Linked DNA regions of Homo sapiens: regions 1, 2 and 3 are each linked to region 4. Evidence: promoter capture Hi-C in 16 types of primary human blood cells and fetal thymus (Javierre and others, 2016). All regions are on one chromosome and are shown on one strand. The core of a region is centred on a gene start or on the middle of the fragment in contact, and the rest is flanking DNA. Distances in the headings are between cores, read along the strand shown. Region 1 overlaps DNAH2 (dynein axonemal heavy chain 2). Region 2 overlaps DNAH2 (dynein axonemal heavy chain 2). Region 3 has its middle 11 kb from the start of CYB5D1. Region 4 holds the start of GUCY2D (guanylate cyclase 2D, retinal).

Region 1 (4,252 bases), core at 1,589-4,088, 230 kb after region 4:
AATAAAAAAATTAGCCAGAGGTAGTGGCACACGCTTGTATTCCCAGCTACTTGGGAGGCTGAAGCAGGAGAATCATTTGAACCCGGGAGGCAGAGATTGCAGTGAGCCGAGATCGCACCACTGCACTCCAGCCTGGGCAATGTGCAAAACTCTGTCTCAAAAAAAAAATTTTTTTTAATAAATAAATAAACTCATCTGACTGATTCCATATCCCATGCTCTTAACCACTACATTATTATACTCCACTCAAATATTTGTTGAGTTTAATTTACAGAATTATGATCTAATGCTTAGAAGAGGTGATGGAGATGGGAAATGTTAGGAGAGCTGGGGGCATCAGTCTTTTTAATAAATGAAGCACGCAACCATGACCAAGCAGAGTGCCTGCCGAGGCTGTGTCAGGGCAGGAGCCCTGGAGCTCTGACCTGGGTGATGGGTGCTCCGGAGAGCATTGTTGTCCTTGTTCATCCTGTCCATGATGGCTTTCCAGTTGCTGTTGACCTGGTCAAATAAGGTCGATTCATTGGGCAGCTGCTTGCGGATGTCTTCTCCTAGGAAGATATTCTGAGGGGGCCAAAAGTTGGGGTGAGAGGCCACTTCTTACACACTCTCCACCCTCTGCTCCCTGTTCCCAGATTGTGGGTGACAGTTGGGTAGAAGATACAGAGTGCTAGAAGTCAAAGGCCAAGATGCCCAAGTTCTACAAGGAAAGCTGGAGGTAGGGGGCCAGCTACCTGGGTCTAAGAAGAAAAATGGAAGAAAAATCTGAGAAGAACAAAAACTTGTTACGGAGGGAATCTAAGGTGAGAGGTAATAACTAAGAATCAGACAGCTGGGTCCTAGATGAAGAGTGACTTTAAAGGTAGGAGAATGAGGCTGATAACAGGGCAAAATCTAGGTCTTAAGAAAAAGAAGGAGTAAGAGCAGGAAGCAGGAAGAGCTCAGGCGCTGAGTCCTGACCTCTAAGTACATCCACTGACGCTGCACTGTGAGAATCATCTCAATAACCTCCAAAATGAGGGAGAGGCAGCGTTCCCAGTGGTCCACATCCTTCTCAAAGGCCTTGACAAAGCGTGATGCCTTCATGGTAGACAGAGCTACCTGGTTATCTTCCAGTGCCTGGAATACTTCTTCTGTACCTCTGAGACACAAGGGGTCAAAATCATAGTTCATCCCCACCTGCCCAACCTTGGTCCCACTCTGCAGCCTGGGTCACACAGCCCTCCATTCTCCTAGAGCCCCAGCTCCCCTGACCTGAGCCGATGATGGCCCTTATCCTTGTAGGGTACTATGTCGAGCTGAGTCACATCCCAGGTCTTGGCAATGTTTTGTAAAGCCTGTGGAGAGAAATTGGGGGACACAGCAGTCAGGTATCTCTTCACTAAGGGGAACAGGAGCTGAGAGGCGCCATCAGATGATGAACAGCTGGAGCCTGTGCTCCAGGAGGCGCAGGAGGTGTGGGAGCATGGGAGGGGACTGTCGTACCACTTCTATAGCCAGCTCTTTAGTTGCTGAAGCAGAGATCTCCCCAATTTTCTCCACATGCTGATCCATCCCAAGCTCCACAATCTGCTCCAAGGTGAAGCTTTCAGATTCCTGATCAAACTCCCGCTGGATCTCATCCCGGACCTGGTCCCAGTGCCTGCAGCCAGGAACAGGAGGGTGTGAGGTCAGGAGAGTTACCATCACTCCATTGCTGTCTCCCACTGGGACACTATGATTCTGCATAGTTACCAATTCATGATTCAACTCATTTTGCTAAACAGGCTCGAAGATGCAATCTTAGGCACCAGGGGAATACGAAGATTGAGGTGAAACCCTCCAGGAGTGGATTCTCTGGAGAGGAAGTTAAGGCAGGTGTGCCCACAAAACACACAATGAATCACCGCAGGTTTACTCTAGAACTGTACTGAGTAAAGGCCTTACATGAAACATCTCATATCATTCTCACGGCTACTCTATAAATTAGGAATTATTATTATTCCATTTACAGATGAGAAAACTGAGGCTTAGAGAGGTTAAATAATGTAAGCAAATAAAGTGGTTAGGTTATACATAACCGTATAACACTTAATGGTTTGGCATTGCCAAAAACGTTATACTGGAAGAAAGACAAAGAAGTAAAATTATTTTCTCTTAAATGGATAGATCATGATTGAAACACCATTTATAAAAATTACTTTATTTTTATAAATCTATCCCCAATGGTTTGAGATACATCCTCTGCCATATAATAAATTCCAGATGAATTAAAAGAGTTAAACCTGAGAAACACAAAGCATTAGAGGAAAGAATGAAGAGGATGTATTTGTAACTTTGGGATAGGAAAGGTCTTCCTAAACAAGGCACAAAGGCAAAAACCATACAGAAAGAAAGTTATACTTCTGGCTACCTCAAAATAAAATCTTTTGTATAACAAAAGACATAAGGCGGGACGGGCACGGTGGCTCATGCCTGTAATCCCAGCACTTTGGGAGGCCAAGGCGAGCGGATCACTTGAGGCCAGGAGTTCAAGACCATCTTGGGCAACATGGCAAAACCCCATCTCTACTAAAAATACAAAAATTAGCAGAGCATGGTGGCAGGTGCCTGTAATCCCAGCTACTTGGGAGGCTGAGGCACAAGAATTGCTTGAACCCGCGAGGTGAAGGTTACAGTGAGCCGAGATCACAGCACTGCACCCCAGCCAGGGCAACAGAGTGAGACTTTGTCTCCCCCACAAAAAAAGGAAAAAAAAAGACATAAGACTTAGTCATGATAGACAACTCCCTTTCAGAGAGAGGGAGGCCCCAGGGCAGGGGTCAGAGAACAAGAAGCCAGCAAGGCTGGATGACCCGAGACAGTGCAAGAAGCAGAGGACAGTGGCAGGCTTGGTGTCTGCGCCACATGTTCGCTGAGCACTATTTGCAATAGCTAAGATGTGGAATCACCCTAAGTGTCCATCAAGCGATGAATGGAGGATGAAAATGTGGTGTATATATACAAAGAAATACTCTTCAGCCTCAGGAAAGAAGAAAATCCTGTCATTTGCAACAACATGGAAGAACCTGGAGGACATTATGCTAAGCGAAATAAGCCAGGCGAAGAAAGACAAACACCGCATGATCGCACTCATATGTCATATGTAAAGTCTGAACAGGTTGAACTCACAGAAGCAGAGTCGAGTGCTGGTTACCAGGGGCTGGGGGTGGTAGGTGGAAAGTTCGGGAGGTGTTGGTCAAAGGACACAAAATTTCAGTTAGACAAGAGGGATGATCTCCTGTACATCACGGCAACAATGGTTAATAACAATCTATTGTATACTTGAAAATCACTGAGAGTAGCTTTTCAGTACTCTCACTACAAAAAATAGGTATGTGAGGTAATGCATATGATAATTAGCTCAATTTAGCCATTCTACAATGTGTACATATTTCAAAACATTATGCTGTACACCAAAGTGTATGCAATTTTCATGCGTCCATCAAAATTAAATGTTAAAAAGAGGAAAGAGAAAAAGACATACATTTGTGGACAGAGGGGAAGAGAGGGCTGTGAACACTGCGGAGAGGAGAATGGGAGGGACCAAGTGGTGGCGCAGGCCAGCGGGGCAGAGTGGACACCCCGGAGCAGAGGAGAAGCCTCACCTCTCTCTAAGGGCAGGGTTCCGCAGGTCTGAGATGAGAGGCATGGTCCTCTTGAACTGCTCTATTTTTGAGCGAGTGGTTTCAATAATTTCCCAGTTTCGGTCCTGAGCAAAAGTTGGGGGCATGAGAAGACCCGACGACCTCCCTGGGAACAGACCCAGATCCTCCACCAGCTTCTCTTCCGCCTCCCCGCCGTTTCTCCCCACCTTATACTCTTTGGCTAATTTTGTGAGGCGACGAAACAGCCCGTGGGCCGTGGTCTCCATGGTTTCCGTCTGCAGGATCAGGAACCGGCCAGTCTTCCACTCATTCCAGTTCTCCTCCCAGTCTCGTGCGATCTCCCAGATTTGCTGGAGGGCATCGAGCTCCTACAGGGCAGAAAGGCGCGTTGCATGAAGTGGCACCTGCCCTCTTCCTCCCTGACGGACGCCCAGGCCCTTCGCTGCTCTCGCTCTGTGAAGCTTCCCCTCTAGATAATACAGCGGCCTCCTCAGTCCACATATTTTTCTCCACTCTGTTGCCTTAAGAGCTTATCAAGGAACAAGCACATGAAAAAATCCTCAATGTCATGAGTCATTAGGGAAATGCAAATCAAAACCTCAGTGGGATGCCACTTCACACCCGCT
Region 2 (4,503 bases), core at 1,976-4,475, 250 kb after region 4:
GACCTGGCTCCCACTCCACCCATCAAATGCCCTCATCACACTCACCAAGCATCCCCTAGCACTCCACCCCATGGATGCTTCCCAGGCCTTATCCTCCTTGATCTGCCGGTAGGTTTTTCTGCTTGTTTGTTTTTGAGATGGAGTCTTGCTCCGTCGCCCAGGCTGGAGTGCAGTGGTGCGATCTCGGCTCACTGCAACCTCTGCCTCCCCGGTTTAAGTGATTCTCCTGCCTCAGCCTTCCGAGTAGCTGGGACTATAGGTGCGCACCACCATGCCCAGCTTATTTTTGTATTTTTAGTAGAGACAGGGTTTCGTCATGTTGGCCAGGCTGGTCTCGAACTCCTGACCTCAGGTGATCCGCCCACCTTGGCCTCCCAAAGGGCTGGGGTTACAGGCGTGAGCCACAGCACCCAGCAAGCCTGTAGGTTTTAACATGGTAGACTACACCCCACTTTCTTCAAACGCACTCTTTTCCCTAGCTTCTGGACCACGGTCCTCTTTTCTGCCCTTCCTTTCAGTAGGAGTATCCTCCTCTCTCCAGTGTCCCATGTAAATATCATTCAGCTAGGCGCTGGGGATACAGTAAAGAATCTGCTTTCCTTGCAGCTCCCTTCAATGCGGACTCCCCGAGGTTCTTCACATCCAGCCCACTCCCCCTTGGTCATCTCTTCCACTCCCATGGCTTCGGCTGCCTTCCGAAAGCTGATGATCCCCAAACCTGCACAGCTAACCTGAGCTCTGGGCTTCGTTGTGCAACTGTCTACTAGATAGCTCTGCCCTGCTTGCTCGTGCACAAGCACCTCAAACTCAATGTGTCTAGAAACAAGCACATCATCTTCTCTGCAAACTTGGCGCTCCTGCCTCAGGGAAGGGTACTATCCCACCGCCTACACCAGAACCATGCATCCTTCCTCGGCCTTACTTTCCGACATCCAACCTCCTTCTGTTTTTAATATGCTAAAGCAAAGTTCAGAAATTCAGACACCTACCTCCAAGGCAAGTGTGGCTCAAGTGTGATGATAAATGGCAACTGACGCTTGGCCTTAAAGTTGAGCTGAAGAGGACATGCTCCCGCGAAGAAAGCCATGCTCCACGCTCCAGGCAATTGTTGCCATCTGGAAATGTGGGCCCAGTGTGGATGCATTTTCTGATTTTTCAAGAGAGGCCAGAAATTGGTTTTTCATGTAAAATCTCCTGAATTTTAAGTGCTAACAACAATTCACCTGAAAAATAATTATTCAGTGGGCATGTGGGAGAGGCTCTAGGACTCCTGGCAATCCTTGACTTGGGCAGTAGTTTGCAAGGGTGTTTTATTTTGTTATTTTATAATGATTTGTTAGTTAAACTGAACATACAATTTTTTTTCTTTTTTGAGACGGAGTCTTGCTCTGTCACCCAGGCTGGAGTGCAGTGGCGCAATCTCAGCTCACTGCAAGCTCTGCCTCCCAGGTTCACGCCATTCTCCTGCCTCAGCCTCCTGAGTAGCTGGGACTACAGGCGCCCGCCACCACGCCCCGCTAATTTTTTGTATTTTTAGTAGAGACAGGGTTTCACCATGTTAGCCAGGATGGTCTCGATCTCCTGACCTCGTGATCCGCCCGCCTCGGCCTCCCAAAGTGCTGGGATTACAGGCGTGAGCCACCGCGCGCGGCCTGAACATACAAGTTTTACGTATATCTCTGTCTATGACAAGTTTCATAATAAAAATGTTTTTAAAGGAAAAAATGATTTTAAACATATTTGTAAAAGTTGCTAGGTACAAAATTAATTTATAAAAATCAAAGTTCTCAATACAAAAATTGTGACTAGGTAGATATTATCATCAAGAAAAAGAGACAATAACAATTAAAACAACAAAAATAAAATACCAAAAATTAATCAGAAATTGTGTGTGTGTGTGTGTGTGTGTGTGTGTGTGTGTAAAATGACTTAAGGGGAAAAGGCAGGACTTAAATAAATTGAAAGAAAAAACACTGTTGGCCAGGCCCGGTGGTTCACACCTGTAGTTTCAGCTACTTGGGGGGCTGAGGCGGAAGAGGATCAATAAGCCTGGGAGGTCCTAGCTGCAGTGAGCTGAGATCGTGTCACTGCACTCCAGCCTGCATGACAGAACAAGACTCAGTCTCAAAACACGCACACACACACACACACACACACACACCCCACAACTATTCTTGGAAAGACTCAAAATCATAAAGATATTCTTCTAAAGTTAACCTATAAATTTAACCAAATCTCTATTCCTATAAAAATAGGAATGAGACTATTTTTGGAACTAAACAAATTGATTCTAAAATTCTTATGGGAAATAAATATTAAATATAGCCTGGAAAACTCTGAAGAAAGAAGAGTAATGAGGACAATAATTAAAACAGTTTGGTTCCTGCACATGAATAGACAGATACCAGAATAGAGAATCCCAAAATAGACACGAATATACTCGGGAATGTGTTACTATAAAGATAGTAGTTCACTAAATGAGATTGGGTCAACTCTAAATGAGATGGCTCTAGCCATCAGGAAAAAACAAACAAACAATGAAATACAAAACTCAATTTGAATCTGCACCTCTTTCTCTACACCAAAATAAATTTCAAATGGATCAAACATCTAAATGTAGAGAATAAAATCATAAAATACCAGAAGAAAATATGGAATATTTTTTAAAATAAAATTAAAAAAAAATCTTGGCCTGGTGTGGTGGCTCATGCCTGTAAGTTCAGCATTTTAGAAGGCCAAGGTGGGTGGATCATTTCAGGTCAGGAGTTTGAGACCAGCCTGGCCAACATGGTGAAACCCCATCCCTACTAAAAATCCAAAAATTAGCCAGAAATCGCTTGAACCCAGGACGCAGAGGTTGCAGTCAGCCAAGATGGTGCCACTGTACTCCAGACTGGACAACAGGGCAAGACTCCCCCTCAAAAAAAAAATGAATAAATAAATAAATAAATAAATAAATAAATAACTTGATTTTTTTTAATCTGCAGGGCTTTTAAAATAAAATTGCACTTTTTAATCACAAAGGATAAACATTCCCACGACCTGAAGATATGCTCAAGAAACTTTGCATTCTAAATACTGCTGAAATGTTATTTGGAAAGAATATTGAGGTGAAAATTCTAGAATTTTTTTAGTCTTTTCTACACTGAATTAACAATATTGGAGATAATAACACATTTCAAACTTTGCAAAGGATTGTGTTTTTACCGTCTTTATTGGAGAAGAATCCTCCAAGAATGAAATGATTTTCAAGTGCTCACTTATTTGTGATACAGGCTTTAAGAGATTGTGGAAGAAGAAATGCTGTTTTTTCAAACCCTGAAGATCTCCACTAACGTATGTGGTATTTTTAAAACTGCTAAAATATCTTCAAAGTGAGTAAGCCTCTTGAAAGTATAAATGAGCAATGAATCACCAGGCATTTAAGGAAAGCCTCCAAAGTAAAAGAGAGAGGCCAAAGCCAAAGACAATTACTATAAATCGGCTAGAATTCCAAACCCAGCCAAATGTACAACAAGCAGAGGGCAGGAAAACAGTTGTCAATCATGCAAAAACTCAAAAGATTTACCTCCCCTGCACCATTTCTTAGGAAGCTACTAATGGATACACACCAACAAAACAAAGGCGTAAACCAAAAAAGAGGAAGACAAAGGAAACATGAAATCAAACAAGGAAAGAGGCTGAGGGAAGTCCCGGGGTAACTGCTTTGTAACAGGCCTTGAAAACAACACCAGCTGGACAGAAGCAGGAGGACAGGAAAAAAACAGATCTAAGAAAAACATTGAAACCAATACCCAGTATGTCAGATTGTGAGGAAAAATACTACTCAAAGGGATTTTATTGGTTGGTTTGGAGGACTTAGTGATAGTGAATGCTGCGCTAGCAAAAATAATGAGGTGGCCAGGCACAATGGCTCACACCTGTAATCCCAGCACTTTGGGAGGCTGAGGTGTGTGGATCACCTGAGGTAGGAGAATCGCTTGAACCTGGGAAGCAGAGCAGAGATCCTGGGCAACAGAGCGAAATTCCATCTCAAATAATAATAATAGTAATAACGATAATAATGAGGTAATTTTTCTTTTTTTGAGACAGAGTCTCGCTCTGTCGCCCAGGCTGCAGTGCAATGGCGTGATCTCAGCTCACTGCAACCTCTGCCTCCCGGGTTCAAGCGAGATTCTCCTGCCTCAGCCTCCTGAGTAGCTAGGATTACAGCCACCCGCCACCATGCCCAGCTATTTTTTGTATTTTTAGTATAGACGGGGTTTCACCATGTTGGCCAGGCTGGTCTCGAACTCCTGACCTCGTGATCCACCCACCTCAGCCTCCTGAAGTGCTGGGATTAGAGGCATGAGCCACCACACCTGGCCTAATAATGAGGCAATTTTAAATTCCAAATTGAGCAAAACATTGTACAAGCAAAAGAACTATAACAATGTAAAATTACTCAACTCAGCAGTGAACAATCCTAATAGAGTCATAATAAGATAAGCCCTAAACATCAAT
Region 3 (4,452 bases), core at 631-3,130, 130 kb after region 4:
GAACGTTTTAGACCTGGCCCACCAGAGATCTACTTCCTATTTCTTCAGTGATCAAGAAGCTGCTGGGGTCGGGTACTGGCTCCAGGATTACTCCAGTATTGTATTACAGCAGGAGTAAGGGGGTATAAAGGAAGATAGCGAGCTAGTGTTTGTATTCTTGATGAAATAAAGATGTCATAGAAATCAACAATAAGAAAAAGACCAATAGAAAAAAAATACAAAAGTAGTAAAGTATATGTACAAAAGATGAACAATAGGATGATGATTGCTGACTTTTATTGAGTTTTACTCTGCATCCAGGAACTAAGTACTTAATATGTACTAACTCACTCACTCCTTTCAATAACCTTATAAAGTAGAAAGTATCCTAATACTCATTTTACAGATGAGAAAACAGACAAAGGGAGGTTAAATATCTTGCTCAAGGTCAGAGCTATTGAGAGGTGGGCATTTATGCCTAAACTCATGGACCACAGTAGACCTGAAAAAAGAAAATTAGATGATGTGATGGCTCAAGAATTGGACATTGTTAATAGCAATTGAGAAAGAAGCTGGCTTTAAGAGGCCATAATGAATTTGTTTCTAGATGTGCTTAGCTCGATATGATGGTGTGGCATCTTTTTAGAAAAATAATTTCTGGTTGGGTGTGGTGGTTCACACCTGTAATCTCCACACTTTGGGAAGCTGGGGTGGGTGGATCACTTGAGCCCAGGAGTTCAAGATCAGCCTGGGCAACATAGTGAGACCCCGTTTCTACAATTTTTTTTTTTTTTTTTGAGGTGGAGTCTTGCTCTGTCGCCCCCAAGCTGGAGTGTAGTGACACGATCTCGGCTCACCGAAACCTCCACCTCCCAGGTTCAAGCAATTCTCCTGCCTCAGCCTCCCGAGTAGCTGGGATTACAGGCGTGCACCACTGCACTGGGCTAATTTTTGTGTATTTTTTTTAGTAGAGACCGGGTTTCACCATGTTGGCCAGGCTGGTCTTGAACTCCTGACCTCAGGTGATCTGCCCACCTCGGCCACCCAGAGTGCTGGGATTACAGGCGTGAGCCACCGTGCCTGGCCAAAATAAATAAATTTTAAAATAGAAGTAACTCAACTTCTGAGCTATGGAATAGTTCTCTGTACCTCCAGTACCTAATAAAGAACCCAAATACTGCAATATATCTTTTCGATTAAAAGATTTTTTGTTTTTTAATTGATTAAAAGATTTTATCTGGTCTGCTCATCCTTCTATTGCTGCCTTTTAGCTAAATCCATTTCCTTGCTCTCACTGAGTAAGGAATATCATCTTAATCAGAAGGAGGAAGATGTAAGCCTAAAATTGTTGTAATTGTTGTCTTTGCCTTCTGCAAGTTTTTTAGATCTGCTTTTAAAAATTTATTTTATTTTATTTTATTTTTAAGACAGAGTCTTCCTCTGTCACCCAGGCTGGAGTGCAGTGGCATGATCTCAGCTCACTGCAGTAACTGCCTCCCAGGCTCAAGCAATCCTCCCACCTCAGCTTCTGGAGTAGCTGGGGTTACAAGCACAGGGGCCACCATGCCCAGCTGTAGATCTTCTTCGATTGACCACTGTGATGGAAACTGAATAATCCTATACAAAATGGCAAAAACCAAACTTTTTCCCATTTGACATTGCTTTTTAACAATTTCTTAATAGTTTTCTGTTGGCTGGCCAGCTAGAAGTATCTTGCTTTTCATCTGTTTTCAAGCCCCAGTTGTTCCAGCAGAATTGCACACTTTTCCCAGCTGATTAACTATCCTTTAGGTTATAAATTTGTCATGGGAAATGCTAACCCACACTGGCTTCCTCTTACCCCTTCACTTGCTCTTGGGCCCTTTCACCATCTAGCACTCCAGTCTGTAAAGGAAAATATTTTTTTTTCTTTTCTTTTTTTTGGAGACGGAGTCTTGCTCTGTCACCCGGGCTGGAATGCAGTGGTGTGATCTCGGCTCACTGCAACCTCTGCCTCCCGGGTTGAAGCGATTCTCCTGCCTTAGCCTTCCAAGTAGCTGGGATTACAGGCATCCACCACCACACCCAGCTAATTTTTTATATTTTTAGTAGAGACAGGGTTTCACCATGTTGGCCAGGCTGGTCTTGAACTCCTGACCTGAAGTGATCCACCCGCCTCGGCCTCCGAAAGTGCTGGGATTATAGGCATGAGCCACCGCACTCGACTGAGCATCATTTTTATTTCAGACTGAATGAGATATAATTAATACATTAAAAATCAACTTATTCTATATTCCAAAACTGTAGAACTCCTAAAATGTATCCCAGAGTCAATAATAAAGTTATCCACTCACTTCATTAGAGGAAGAGTTTGAGCTTTGGTGTCAGAAAGGTAGCACCTGGAATCCAAGCTCTGCCACTTAATAACTATGACCCTGGGCAAGCTATTTATCCCTCAAGTCTCAGCTCCTCCATCTGTAAAATGGTGTATTAATGCCTATCTCAAAGGGTTGTGGTGAGGTTTAAGTGAGCTAACTTACATAAAGCACTGGCTGTAATAAGGTACTCGATAATTGGTAGCTGCATTCTAAACCATCAAGTTTACTGTTAGCCACTTCTCTCTTCAGAGGTTCACTTAAGATGACTGCAAGGTGAGAAGATTCACAACCTGAGTTACGAGCTTAAGCACCTTAAAATCCTTTAGGAGCAAAGGACTGACTTTAGTTACTCTTCTCCCAGTAGTTGGCCCCATTCCCTTGCTTTCCATCACTGTATAAAGAAGCTCAATTCTGGCATGATATGAAACAAACCATATTTTACTTGACTCAAAAACTTCTCCTAATGGAGGAATAAACACTATTGTTAGGTTGGAAACTGAATGTTAGTCACAGATACGGTCTGTAATTTTCTAATCATGAGAGATGTTACCTGGATGCTGAAAAATGCCAAATCTCAAAATCCTGAGGGGAGGATTCATTACTAAATAAAGAATGGCTAGCACAAGGAATGGGAAAGAAAACTAAGGTTTTCTGAGTGTCTTTTCCAAGGACTCTTTATAGTGCTGGGCAGGTTCCCATTCCTTATTTAATCTTCTCAACAACACTATAAGGTAGCATCTTTTTAGGGTACCATGTCCTGGGTCTTGCCTGTTGCCCTACTGTCATCTTACTTTCTATTATCTGTATTTTATGGTTGAAGAAATGGAATCCAAAGGAAGGTATTTAAATATTCTGTGCATGGTTATAAAGCCAGAACACTCCTCCTTTCTGCAGTTAGATTTCTTCTAAGAATATCCCATGCATACCTTGTCCAACTGCAGCCTGGCTTCTCTAACAAAGCCACCATGACCTGCTGTTTGCTGAATCCATGGTCGCTCAGGTCTTCATCTTACGTGACCTCTGTGCAGCACTTTATACTGTTGGCCGCTCCCCTCTCTTCTGTGCTCTCTCTTTGGCTTCTGTGGCAACATTTCCTGCTTGGCCTCTTTCACCCTCTAGCTCTTCCTTTGTGGTGTCCTTTTCTCCTCCCCAAACCTCTGTAGATTGCACTTCGTCCTTAAGGGGATCTGATCCTTGACTGGCTACAGCTGCTATCTGCCAATAATTCCCACACCTATAACTCTAGCCCAGAGCTGTCTTTCAGGATCCAGTCCTATATATCCAACAAGATCTGGACATGTGCCTGCCTGCCCGAGTTACCTCATACAGCTAACTAAAAATTCATCACTTTCCTTCCCAAAGTCCTCTTCCAGCAGTTCCTTTTTCTGCCAGTGGACTCACCATCCTCCTAGTCATCCAGGCCAGACACGGGTGTCATCCTTGACTCCTCCCTTTGCCTTAGACCCCTACCCAAATTATCAAGTCCTGCAATTCTCTCTTCATTTCATCTCCGATCTCCACTGCCACTAACCTAGTTCTGGCTGCCTTTGGATCTCACCTGGACTACTGCATTAGGGCAGGTCTCTCTGTCTCCACTTTCTCTCCCTCATTTCCTTCTCTCTTGACATTGTAGTCAAGTCACCTTTTGAAAATGCAAATCTGATCATGTGATTCTCTCTATAAAACCCTTAACTCTGGGCCAGGTACAGTGGCTCACACCTGTAATCCCAGCACTGTGGGAGGCCCACACGGGTGGATTGTCAGGAGTTCAAGACCAGCCTGGCCAACATGGTGAAACCCCGTCTCTACTAAAAATACAAAAATTAGCCGGGTGTGGTGGTGCACGCCTGTAATCCCAGCTACTCGGGAGGCTGAGGCAGGAGAATTGCTTAAACCTGGGAGGCGAAGGTTGCAGTGAGCCGAGATCATGCCATTGCACTCCAGCCTGGGCAACAAGAGCAAGACTCCATCTCAAAAACAAAACAAAACATAAAACACTTAACTCTGTACACTATAAAAGGGTGAATATTATGGTATGTGAATTATGTCTCAATTAAAAAAAAATAAAACTTAACCTGGTTTACAAAGCCTTCTATGATTTGGTCTGGCTCAGCGT
Region 4 (4,294 bases), core at 509-3,008:
ATGTTGGACTTGAGAGGTCGAATTGCCTACTCTCTAGAGGCAATCCTCGTACACTAAGAGACCCCAAGTGGGGCCAGAGCCTCTACATTACCCAGGAAACTCCAAACAGCTAGAGCTGCCAGTGGTTCTTTCTCCATTGGCTGCATCCTCCTCTCCCTGCTTTGGCTGTCCTCTCCCCTCTCCCTTGCCTTCTTCCCTCCTCCCGGGACCGTCTACCTGCTGCAGATTGAGGTCAGAGGGCAGCTCGCGGCGCTCTTGAGCCCTGCGCAGGCTGTCCAGCACGCTGCCTTCAGAGGGACAGTGGCGCGTGAGGGTGAGCACGGCATCGTGGGCCCTGCGAAGCTGGGAGCTGTTGGCGAGTGCGGCCAAGGCCTCCGGGCCTGGGGACAAGGCGTAGTGGATCGTGTCGAAGGGCAGGAAGACCAGGGAGCCATCGGTCAGGCCCAGCTCCTCTGCGGCCTCCAGGAGGTAGCGCTGCTCCTCGCCACCCAGCAGCACCGAGTGCATCACCATGATCACTGCTGCGGACAGAGGCTTGGCTCGCGGCGCCGTCCGGCTGCCGGCAGGACCAGCCGACCTCCTCGCACCCTGCAAGGGAGCCTACCTGTGACCCTGGGCCCGTCCCGAACCTTCCTCAGGGCCTCCCGGGCTCCAGACAGGTCCAAGGGCTCCATGGAAGTCACGGAGGCGACAGGCAGGCCCCGGGCCCTGAGTGCCGTGGACAGTGAGCGTCCCGCCTCCACCCACAGGTCCTGGGGGGCGGTGACCAGGGCCACGCGCGCCCAGCCGAATGCGCGAAGCAGGGCGTAGAGGGCATCCGCGGCGGGGGTCACGGCAGGGGCCGTGGTGCCCTCCGCCTGCGTCCAGGGGCAGCCCCAGGGCACCAGCGCGATCCCGGCTTCTTCGGCGAGCAGCTCGGCTGGCCGGCAGGCCGCAGGGTTCACCGGACCCACGAGGCCCGACACGCGGGCCAGCGCGGAGGACACGGCCCCCAGCGAGCCCGGCGTCCGGCAAGGCTCGGGCAGCAGCGCTACCTCGAAGCGGGGACCGCCTGCCAGGCCGGGGTCGCGGTTCAGGCGGGCGGCGGCCAGGCGGGCGGCCAGGTCCGGGCGAGCCCGAGAGAAGATGGGGTCGCAAGCCCAGGGGCCCAGGACCCCCACCGTGAACACGGCGGAGAGGGCGGGGGGCTGCAGCAGAAGCAGGAGCAGCAGGAGCGGGAGCCGGGGCAGGGCCCGGGGGAGGCGGGGCAGGGACGGAGCCCACCACGCGGGACCGCAGAGCCCGGGGTCCGGAAGCCCACCCGCTCGGCGGGCGCAGGCGGTCATTGCCGGCTTCTGCGAACACAGACGGAGCAGGCTGAGCGACTGAGACCCCGGCCTCCCCTAGGGTTCTCCCCGTAACCCCGAGTTTCTCCAAGCCCGAGTAACCCATGGGATGATTCTGCTGCTACCGCCCCCTCCGGAGGCTGGGAAGACTAACTGGGGCCAAGGACACCGCCCCGAAGCCCCCTTCTGCCGCCCCGGCTTCCCGCTCCCACCCGGCCTGCCCCTCCCCCCGTCGGAGGCGTCAGGGGTCAGCAGGGACTCGCCTGCGCCCTCAGACCGACCCTATCCCAGCGGAGGGGCCTCTGACATTTACAGGGAAGTCCGGGGGCTCGGGCCCACGGCCCCCGGTGAGGGGTCACAGGGCCGGTCCCCCTTTTGACGCCCGCCCACAGGTCTTCCTTGCCAGCCCAGGCCAGGGCGGGGGCGTGGGTACAGCCGGCCAGAGCCCTTAATCTCCCCAAGCTGATTAGGGTCCTTAATTAGGTAGGGAGGGGCGGGCTAGTGGAGGATGAGAGCCCCTACTGCGCCTTTCTGGGGTGGGATCTGTCCTGGCTTCCAGGTAGTCAGCCAGATCCTTTCCCCTCCATGCCTTCCAGCCCCCCACATCACCCTCATCACCACCACCCCTGCACAAAAGCAGCCGCAGCTTCCCCTTTCAGCCGTCGGCCACACTGCCCTGCTCAGCCAGAAAGTAACAAGTGCCTGCCCGTGGACAGCTGTGGGTAATCCGTCCTGGAGAAGAAACACTGATCCCAGTCCCTTTCCTTACAATCTTCTGTTTCCAGTTCTGCCAGCTAAGTTCAAGCTCCATCCTTTGGCTGGCAAAGTCTATATCCCAGAGACCAAACCCACACCAAGCTGACACCTGCCTTTCTTCTTTCACTTCTCTTCTCTCTCTCGCCACACTTGATTCCCTGACCTCTGCTTCTCCATGCCTAGAAAACCACCCTCAGGAAGTAATGAAAAGAGCTTTGGCCTCCGACAGACCTGGGTTCCAAGTCCCTCTTGCTGATTTTTGGACCTTGGGCAATTGCTTAATCTGAGGGTTGTTGTGAAAATGAATATAATTGCCCGGATGGCAAGAATAGCTAACAATTTTAGAGAAGAGTATAATGGAAGATGCCCTATAAGATATACAAATTTATTATAAAGCAATAGCAATTATGTATTTATGTAAATATATAATATATAAAACATAGCAATTATATATCTACATAAATATATAATATATAAAACATAGCAATTATATATTTATATAATTATATGATATATAAAACAGCAATTATATAAATATATACTATAAAGCTATAGCAATTATATATTATATATTTATATAAATCCACATTATGTAGTGACAGCAATTATATATTTATATAAATATATATTATAAAGCTATGGCAATAAAGACTTCATAGTTTTGGCACAAGGATAAACAAATGGACCAATGAAATAGAATATACAGTACTGAAACAAACACAGCAAATGTGTGAAGACGTGGACATTTCTTACCAACTGGGAAAGAATAAACTTCAACAAATGGAGCTGATTAGCCATCTGGGGGGAAAATAGAATTCAATCCCTATCTCACACCATACACAAAATCTATTCCAGGTCAAAGACCTATATGTGAAAAATAAAACTTAAAAACTTTTAAATGAATCATTTTCAGACTTGGTGGCAAAGATTGGATCAGGTAAGAATCATCAGTGGATTCTAAAGCTGGGGGAAATGTTGGATGAGGAGCAGAACTTTTGCAGGGTCTGAAAGTATCTCCCTCCAGATTGCCATGAGTTGGAAGGGAGTGGGGAATAAAATAAAAAGCAGTCATTGTACAGTGGAGAAATGGGGCAATACTTTAAGCAAGTGATCAAAATTAACCATGAGGGGCAGAGAGACATTCTTTGCCTCCAGATGTGATACCCTGAGAAGGACATAATACTACACCTATGCAGTGCTGCACAATACGTCTCGGCAATGTTCCAGCATTATTTCAAATCTAATCACAAGGAAACATAAGATAAACACTAAATGAGAAACGTTCTATTTAAAAAGGTGGGGAGGACTGCATTCTTCAAAAATGTCAATGTCATAGAAGGCAAATAGAGGTTGAGGAACTGTTTCAGATTAAAGAAACCTAAAAAGACATGACAATTATATGCAACACCTGCCCTTAGTTTGGATTCTGTATCATTGGATTTTTTTAAAGTGCTATAAGGTTATAGGGCTTGAGGCCGGGCACCGTGGCTCACGCCTATAATCCCAGCACTTTGGGAGGCCGAGGCAGGCGGATCACTTGAGGTCAGGAGTTTGAGACCAGCCTGGCCAACATGGTGAAGTCCCGTCTCTACTAAAAATACAAAAATTAGCCGCGGGTGGTGGAGTGCACCTGTAATCCCAGCTGCTCAGGAGGCTGAGGCAAGAGAATCACCTGAACCTGGGAAGCAGAGTTTGCAGTGAGCCAATATCGCGCCACTGCACTCCAGCCTAAGCAACAAAGTGAGACTCCATCTCAAAAAACAAAAAAAGAAAAGAAAAATGGTTATAGGGCGGCATGGGGTTATAAAAATGCTATAAAGAACATCAACATTAACAAAAAAATTGGCAATTGACAAAATTGGAATATCACAGGAGATTCAAAAGAGTATAAAGTTATAAAGTTAATAATGGTAGTGTAGTTATGTTAGACTATCCCTGTTCATAGGAAATACACACTGAAGTATTTAATGGTAAAGCATCATGTATATAACTGACCCTCAAGCAGTCCAGAAAAAATATATATTAGATATGATATATGGTATGTTTTATATATTATCTATTTCAAATGATAAACAAATAGGGTAAAATGCTAACAATAGGTGAATCTGGGTAAACAGCCTGTGAGTGTTCTTTGCATATTTTTTATTTTTGCAACATTTTTTAAGTTTGAAATTATTTCCAAATAAAGTTAATTAAAAATTTTAGATTATAGA

What was found. The method cuts DNA at HindIII sites, captures the fragments that hold promoters and counts their contacts. A CHiCAGO score of 5 or more calls a contact.
Region 1: a contact is called between a fragment that was not itself captured here and the fragment with the promoter of GUCY2D in region 4, in 2 of 17 cell types (activated CD4 T cells and endothelial precursors). The highest score is 5.5, in activated CD4 T cells.
Region 2: a fragment that was not itself captured here is called in contact with the fragment with the promoter of GUCY2D in region 4 in 3 of 17 cell types (erythroblasts, activated CD4 T cells and naive B cells); the score reaches 8.5 in erythroblasts.
Region 3: a contact is called between a fragment that was not itself captured here and the fragment with the promoter of GUCY2D in region 4, in 4 of 17 cell types (M2 macrophages, activated CD4 T cells, erythroblasts and 1 more). The highest score is 6.0, in M2 macrophages.

The regions. Positions count from the first base shown.
Region 1 is chr17:7,767,642-7,771,893 of GRCh38, reverse strand. DNAH2 (dynein axonemal heavy chain 2) reads right to left here. Exons shown (of 86, transcript NM_020877.5): 23 at 3,833-3,994; 24 at 3,627-3,730; 25 at 1,486-1,642; 26 at 1,255-1,337; 27 at 961-1,141; 28 at 426-564. Among named protein-coding and RNA genes, the nearest start is that of DNAH2, 52 kb to the right of the region's middle. The HindIII fragment of the contact is 2,502 bases long and covers 1,588-4,089 here.
Region 2 is chr17:7,749,579-7,754,081 of GRCh38, reverse strand. The region is part of intron 12 of DNAH2 (dynein axonemal heavy chain 2); the gene reads right to left. Among named protein-coding and RNA genes, the nearest start is that of DNAH2, 34 kb to the right of the region's middle. The HindIII fragment of the contact is 7,689 bases long and covers 1-4,503 here.
Region 3 is chr17:7,867,213-7,871,664 of GRCh38, reverse strand. It overlaps a transcript of NAA38 not described here. Among named protein-coding and RNA genes, the nearest start is that of CYB5D1, 11 kb to the right of the region's middle. The HindIII fragment of the contact is 6,423 bases long and covers 1-4,452 here.
Region 4 is chr17:8,000,079-8,004,372 of GRCh38, reverse strand. It overlaps GUCY2D (guanylate cyclase 2D, retinal), which reads right to left and starts at 1,758. Exons shown (of 20, transcript NM_000180.4): 1 at 1,639-1,758; 2 at 605-1,334; 3 at 217-521. The coding sequence starts at 1,325. The HindIII fragment of the contact is 12,410 bases long and covers 1-4,294 here.